Linked DNA regions of Homo sapiens: region 2 is linked to region 1. The links are contacts of gene promoters, found by promoter capture Hi-C in human tissues and cell types (Jung and others, 2019). All regions are on one chromosome and are shown on one strand. The core of a region is centred on a gene start or on the middle of the fragment in contact, and the rest is flanking DNA. Distances in the headings are between cores, read along the strand shown.

Region 1 (2,505 bases), core at 3-2,502:
CAGGCTGGTCTCGAACTCCTGACCTCAGGTGATCTGCCCACCAAAGTGTGGGGATTACAGGTGTGAGCCACCGCGCCCGGCGGCCCTTCCTCCATGTTTCAGTTGGGCACAAACCCTTCGTAAGGCGACAGAAGGGAACTCTCAGGAGCACTGGGGCACGTCCGCAGAATGCCAACAGGTAGGAGCGGGGATAGGGGGCAGTTAGGTAAACTGGAGGGAAACAGGGTCAGTCGGGGGAAAACAAACAAAGCCTCGGGTTTTCCTGCAATTCCCACACCTGCATCCCTAAGGCTCCCAAGTGGTTACCGGAAAGAAGGCCGTGAGTGTAAGTTGCCCGGGTCCTTGGCGTTTTGAACAAAGAATTGGACAAAACGCACAAAAAAAGTAACAAAACACAGGAATGAAGCAGCAAAAGTAGGGACTTATGAACGCGAGAAAGCACTCCACAGGGTGTGAGTGGGCCCGAGCAAGCGGCTCGAGGCCCCGGTTACAAAGTTTTCCGGGTTTTAGGTACTCCTTCTGAGGTCCCTATCAGCTACCCCGTATCTGGATGAAGGGTTCGGTCTGTGGCTAAAGACTGAGGTGAACTGGCGCCCTATGCAGATGAAGGGATGGCCCGTGATTGGCCCACGGCCAATGCAGGGCACGTTCCCTTCCCATCTGAGAGGTGGTGGAAAGGCAGGGATGCGGGGAGAGCCGCAGCCTGAAGCCTTTGCTACTCGGTGGTGGGAAGATGAGGATTTTTCTTTTGGTTTGGCTTTTGGACGTGGGCGTTAATTGGCCTCAGGTTCCCGCCCCCAGACCCAGGTGTTTTCCTTTTGATCCAGCTTTGGGAAGTCAGCACGAATTGTACTCAAGTTCCCTGCTCTCAGACCCTATTCTCCAGCCTCAACAGTGAGACGCCAAGGGTTGGATCTAAGGGGGCCTACCAGGGGTAGTGGCAGGACACTCGCTAAGCCCCGTCCCCGCCCCGAATCCTCTGAGTATCGTCACCCTCACCCCAAAACCCCGACACACATACTCTCACTCTTACATCCCGACCCCCACGACCGCAGGGTCCTCACCACCAGCAGGTTCCTGTCCTCCACCAGCTGCCGCTTCCGAAGGATCTCTGATTTCAGAATGTCCATCTCGCCGCCAGAATTTAAGCTCCAGTTTCCCGCTCCAGCTCCTCGAACCCAGCCTCACTGGGCCGGCGGCCGCGAACCCACTGAGTATACGGAACAACAAGCCCAAACACCTGAGAACAACTGACAGGAGCCGCTTCCGGCGGAAGCTGGGATGAGAGAGATGAGGGAAGAGAGTGGCCCGGGGCGCCTGTGGTGGCCAAAGCAGCTGTGCGTGAGTGCCCACTGGCGGCGCCCTCCGGCAGCGCGCCTGTAGTTTCCCCTCGTAGGGAGGTTTACGTGAACGTGGACGGAAACCCGGGTCTTTGTAGTACTCTCTGCACCTGCTAGTTGAGTTCCAAAAGCCTCTCGAAGAACACCTCAATAATGCCAGTTAAATCAAGATCTTTATTAACTGGAAATTTACATTAGGGTTTCTGAAGTTACTTGCTTGCAAAATTTGCAAAAGGATGAGAAAAATCTAAACAATAATACTAACTTGTAACAATAGAGTGAAAGGGCTGTCTGTTCATTACTAGCCTGTTAAATTTCCTGTGAACTTAAACGACTACAACCATTTAAAGCAGTTTGGAAGTCAATTTATCTTCACTCCCTCTGTTTTAGATTGCTTACCAATCTTGGTGATAATTGAACATTTACCTCAAGCTAACTAATCATTTTTTGGTCATGTGTTCAGCAATCAAGATTTTTCAGTGACATGATTGGAGATGTAATCAGAAATTCCTTTTTTTTTTTTAAATCCAACCCAAGGGAAAAAAAGTTAAATTGAAGAGAAAAATTATGTCAGAGATTTTTTAAGTCCCTAACATTTGTTTACAGTGGACTTATTTTTTTCATGTCATTGAAGCACGTTTAAAAATTGTTTTTGTGAAATCATAATTGAACAATATTTGACATTTCGTTTTTCTTACTCAAAAAAGGTAAGAAATATCATTTTGTTGAGTCAGCTGATAATGGGTAAAATGCTTTACAAAACAAAAAAATGAACAATTGAATTATTTCAATTTAGAAAGTCTTTTGTGGGGGGTGATACTTCATCTAAAAGATATCTGAGGCCAGACGGGGTGGCTCACCCCTGTAATCCCAGAACTTTGGGAGGCCGAGGTGGACAGATCACCTGAGGTCAGGAGTTCAAGACCAGCCTGGCCAGCATGGTGAAATCCCGTCTCTACTAAAAATACAAAAATTAGCCAGGCGTGGTGGCAGGTGCCTATAGTCCTAGCTACTCAGGAGGCTGAGACAGGAGAATTGCTTGAATCCGGGAGATGGAGGTTGCAGTGAGCCGGGATCATGCCACTGCAGTCCAGCCTGGGTGATAGAGCAAGACTTTGTCTCAAAAACAAAACAAAATAAAATAAAATATACCTGACTTTTGCCA
Region 2 (2,505 bases), core at 4-2,503, 310 kb before region 1:
CGCTAGTTTACCTATGCAACAAACCTGCACGTGTACCCCTGAACTTAAATACAACTTTTTTAAAAAGCCCCAAAAGGTTTATGCTTATTCAGCCAGACCCTGTTCTAAGTGCTTTACATATATTAACTCGTTTAATCCTCATAACAGCCCTACAAGGTAGGCAATATTATTGTCCCCATTTCATAGATGAGTGTTCTCAACTGAGGCACAGAGAGGTTAAGAAACTTGCCTAAGCTTGCACAGCTAGTGGGTGGCCAGGCAAGATTCAAGCCCAGGCAGAATGGCTTCAGTCTGTGCCCTTCACACAGGTCTGTGAATCCTGATGGTGGCTAAGTGTTAAGAAAAAAATAAACAGGATGGTGATATATTAAGTACCTGGGGGAAAACATTCCCCATGTGCTGGTCACCGAAGGTTATCTAAGAGGCAGCATTTGAGTAAGAACCTGAAAGACGACCAGGAGCCAGCTACCCAAAGAGTGGGGTAGGGAGCAGGGCCTGGCCTTCCAGGGAGAGGAAGCAGGAAATGTGAATAATATGTGATGAAGACAAAGAGGATGTGGCAGGAGCAGTGAGAAGCCACCCGCAGTCTTTAAGCAGAGCAGTGATGTGAGCTGAGCTCTTTCTCCAGCCTGGGCTACTGGGTGATCCGCGGATGCGTGACCACCTGGAACATACGGAGCCCTGGAAGAGGGTTCTGTAGCTGGAGGGTAGGGGGTGACACGATTTCTGGTGGGGCTGGGTGGCAAAAGATAAGACTGGATGACCAGGGGGTCCTTATAGCCATCAGAAGGAATATGGACTTTTTGTCCCCAAAGCCAGGGAAGCCCTGAACAGGTTTTTAGCGAAAGTTACGGGATCAGATCTGGGATTTAGGAGAATCGCTCCAGCTGGAGTGGAGAATGCATCTGAGAGAGATAAGATCAGCACCCATTCACAGGGCTGCTGGAGACATCCTGGTGAAAGATGATGTGGCCTGAGTATGCCTGGCGCCCAGCAGTTGCTCACTCAGCTTCAGGCACTGTTGGGATAAGGGGCTGCCCTCATGACTTTTCATGAGGTAGTTATGAGGACAGGCTCCATGATCAGGTGAGGAATGAGAGAAAGGAGGGAGGGAAATGAGCTCTCTATCCCTGTTTCTGGCTTTGGGGAGGAGGAGGGAGCATGCTGTTTACTAGGAGAGGGAGCCTGGAGGCAGGATTGGCCAGTGAGGCAAGTTCAGTTTAGGACATACAGAATATGACAGTGGCCAAGGCGGAAAGCAGGAGGTGTAGATGTGGATAAAATTCAACAACTCCTCTAAGGATGGAAACAAAATATTGGAAGAGAAATGTATGTCTGAGCTGGGTGCGGTGGCTCACGCCTGTAATCCCAACACTGTGGCCAAGGTGGGTGGATCACCTGAGGTCAGGAGTTCAAGACCAGCCTGGCCAACATGGCAAAACCCCGCCTCTACTAAAAAATTAGCCGGGCATGGTGGTGGGTGCCTGTAATCCCAGCTACTCGGGAGGCTAAGGCAGAAGAATCGCTTGAACCCAGGAGGGGAGGCTGCAGTGAGCCGAGATTGTGCCACTGCACTATAGCCTGAGTAACAGAGACAGACTCTGTCTCAAAAAAAGAAAAAAAAATGTTGTAGGTCTGAACATTTCCTCATTGTCCATTACTAGGTGTTGCAGTCAAAACAAATCAGGACTAGAACTAGTCTGCGTGCAAAGAAACAATATGCCCTCTGAGGACCTCAGAACACAAGGAGATGGGCTCCAATTGCATTATCAAAAAATGGGGTTTTGCATTGGAATACGCCTCACAGACTTTAGAGAGGTACCTGAGAATCCCATTCGAACCTGGCTTCAGATCATCAAGTCTCCAGTCAGCTTGAAATAACACAGGTAGTTAAGACCAGCCTGGGCAACATGACAAGATCCCGTCTCTACAAAAAATACAAAAATTAGCAGCGTGTGGTGGGGTGTGCCTGTAGTCCCAGTTACTTAGGAGGCTGAGGCAGGAAGATCACTTGAGCCCAGGACGGGGAGGTTACAGTGAGCCGTGATCACACCATCACACTCCAGCCTGGGTGACAGAGTGAAACTCTGTCTCTATAACAAACAAACAAACAAACACAAAACAGGTAGTCCTTAACACCAGCGTTCAACTTTTTTCTCCAATGCTAACTGTATGCCCAATTCCCTTTCTATTGATGGTGAGGCCTTTTGAACTGTTGAAAATTTTTACCAGTGTTGTTTAGAAAACAACACAGGACCTGTGACTGGAAAAAGGTATAATTTTCAGTCAGTTGGAAGACAGGATGTGAGTGATTTCTTTTTATTACGAAGTTTGTAAGTCCTCAGAGCCTACCGGTCTCCGGAAAATGATGTTTCTAGATCTACCAAGTACTAGATCAACCATGGTGGGAGGAAAACCAGTCTCTCCCCTGAAGAGTGGATGGGTGCAGGTTGGAAATTCTAGAGAAAGACTTTACCCAGAAACAAGTCGGCTTTTGCTAAGTGG

What was found. The method cuts DNA at HindIII sites, captures the fragments that hold promoters and counts their contacts. A contact is called where the count stands out against the background at its distance.
Region 2: a contact is called between a fragment that was not itself captured here and the fragment with the promoter of PRPF18 in region 1, in 1 of the 25 tissues and cell types used here (adrenal gland).

The regions. Positions count from the first base shown.
Region 1 is chr10:13,585,712-13,588,216 of GRCh38, reverse strand. PRPF18 (pre-mRNA processing factor 18) reads right to left here and starts at 1,252. Exons shown (of 10, transcript NM_003675.4): 1 at 1,065-1,252. The coding sequence starts at 1,130. RefSeq lists enhancers at 187-782, 958-1,297. The HindIII fragment of the contact is 7,227 bases long and covers 1-2,505 here.
Region 2 is chr10:13,892,644-13,895,148 of GRCh38, reverse strand. The region is part of intron 2 of FRMD4A (FERM domain containing 4A); the gene reads left to right. Among named protein-coding and RNA genes, the nearest start is that of FRMD4A-AS2, 98 kb to the left of the region's middle. The HindIII fragment of the contact is 3,951 bases long and covers 1-2,505 here.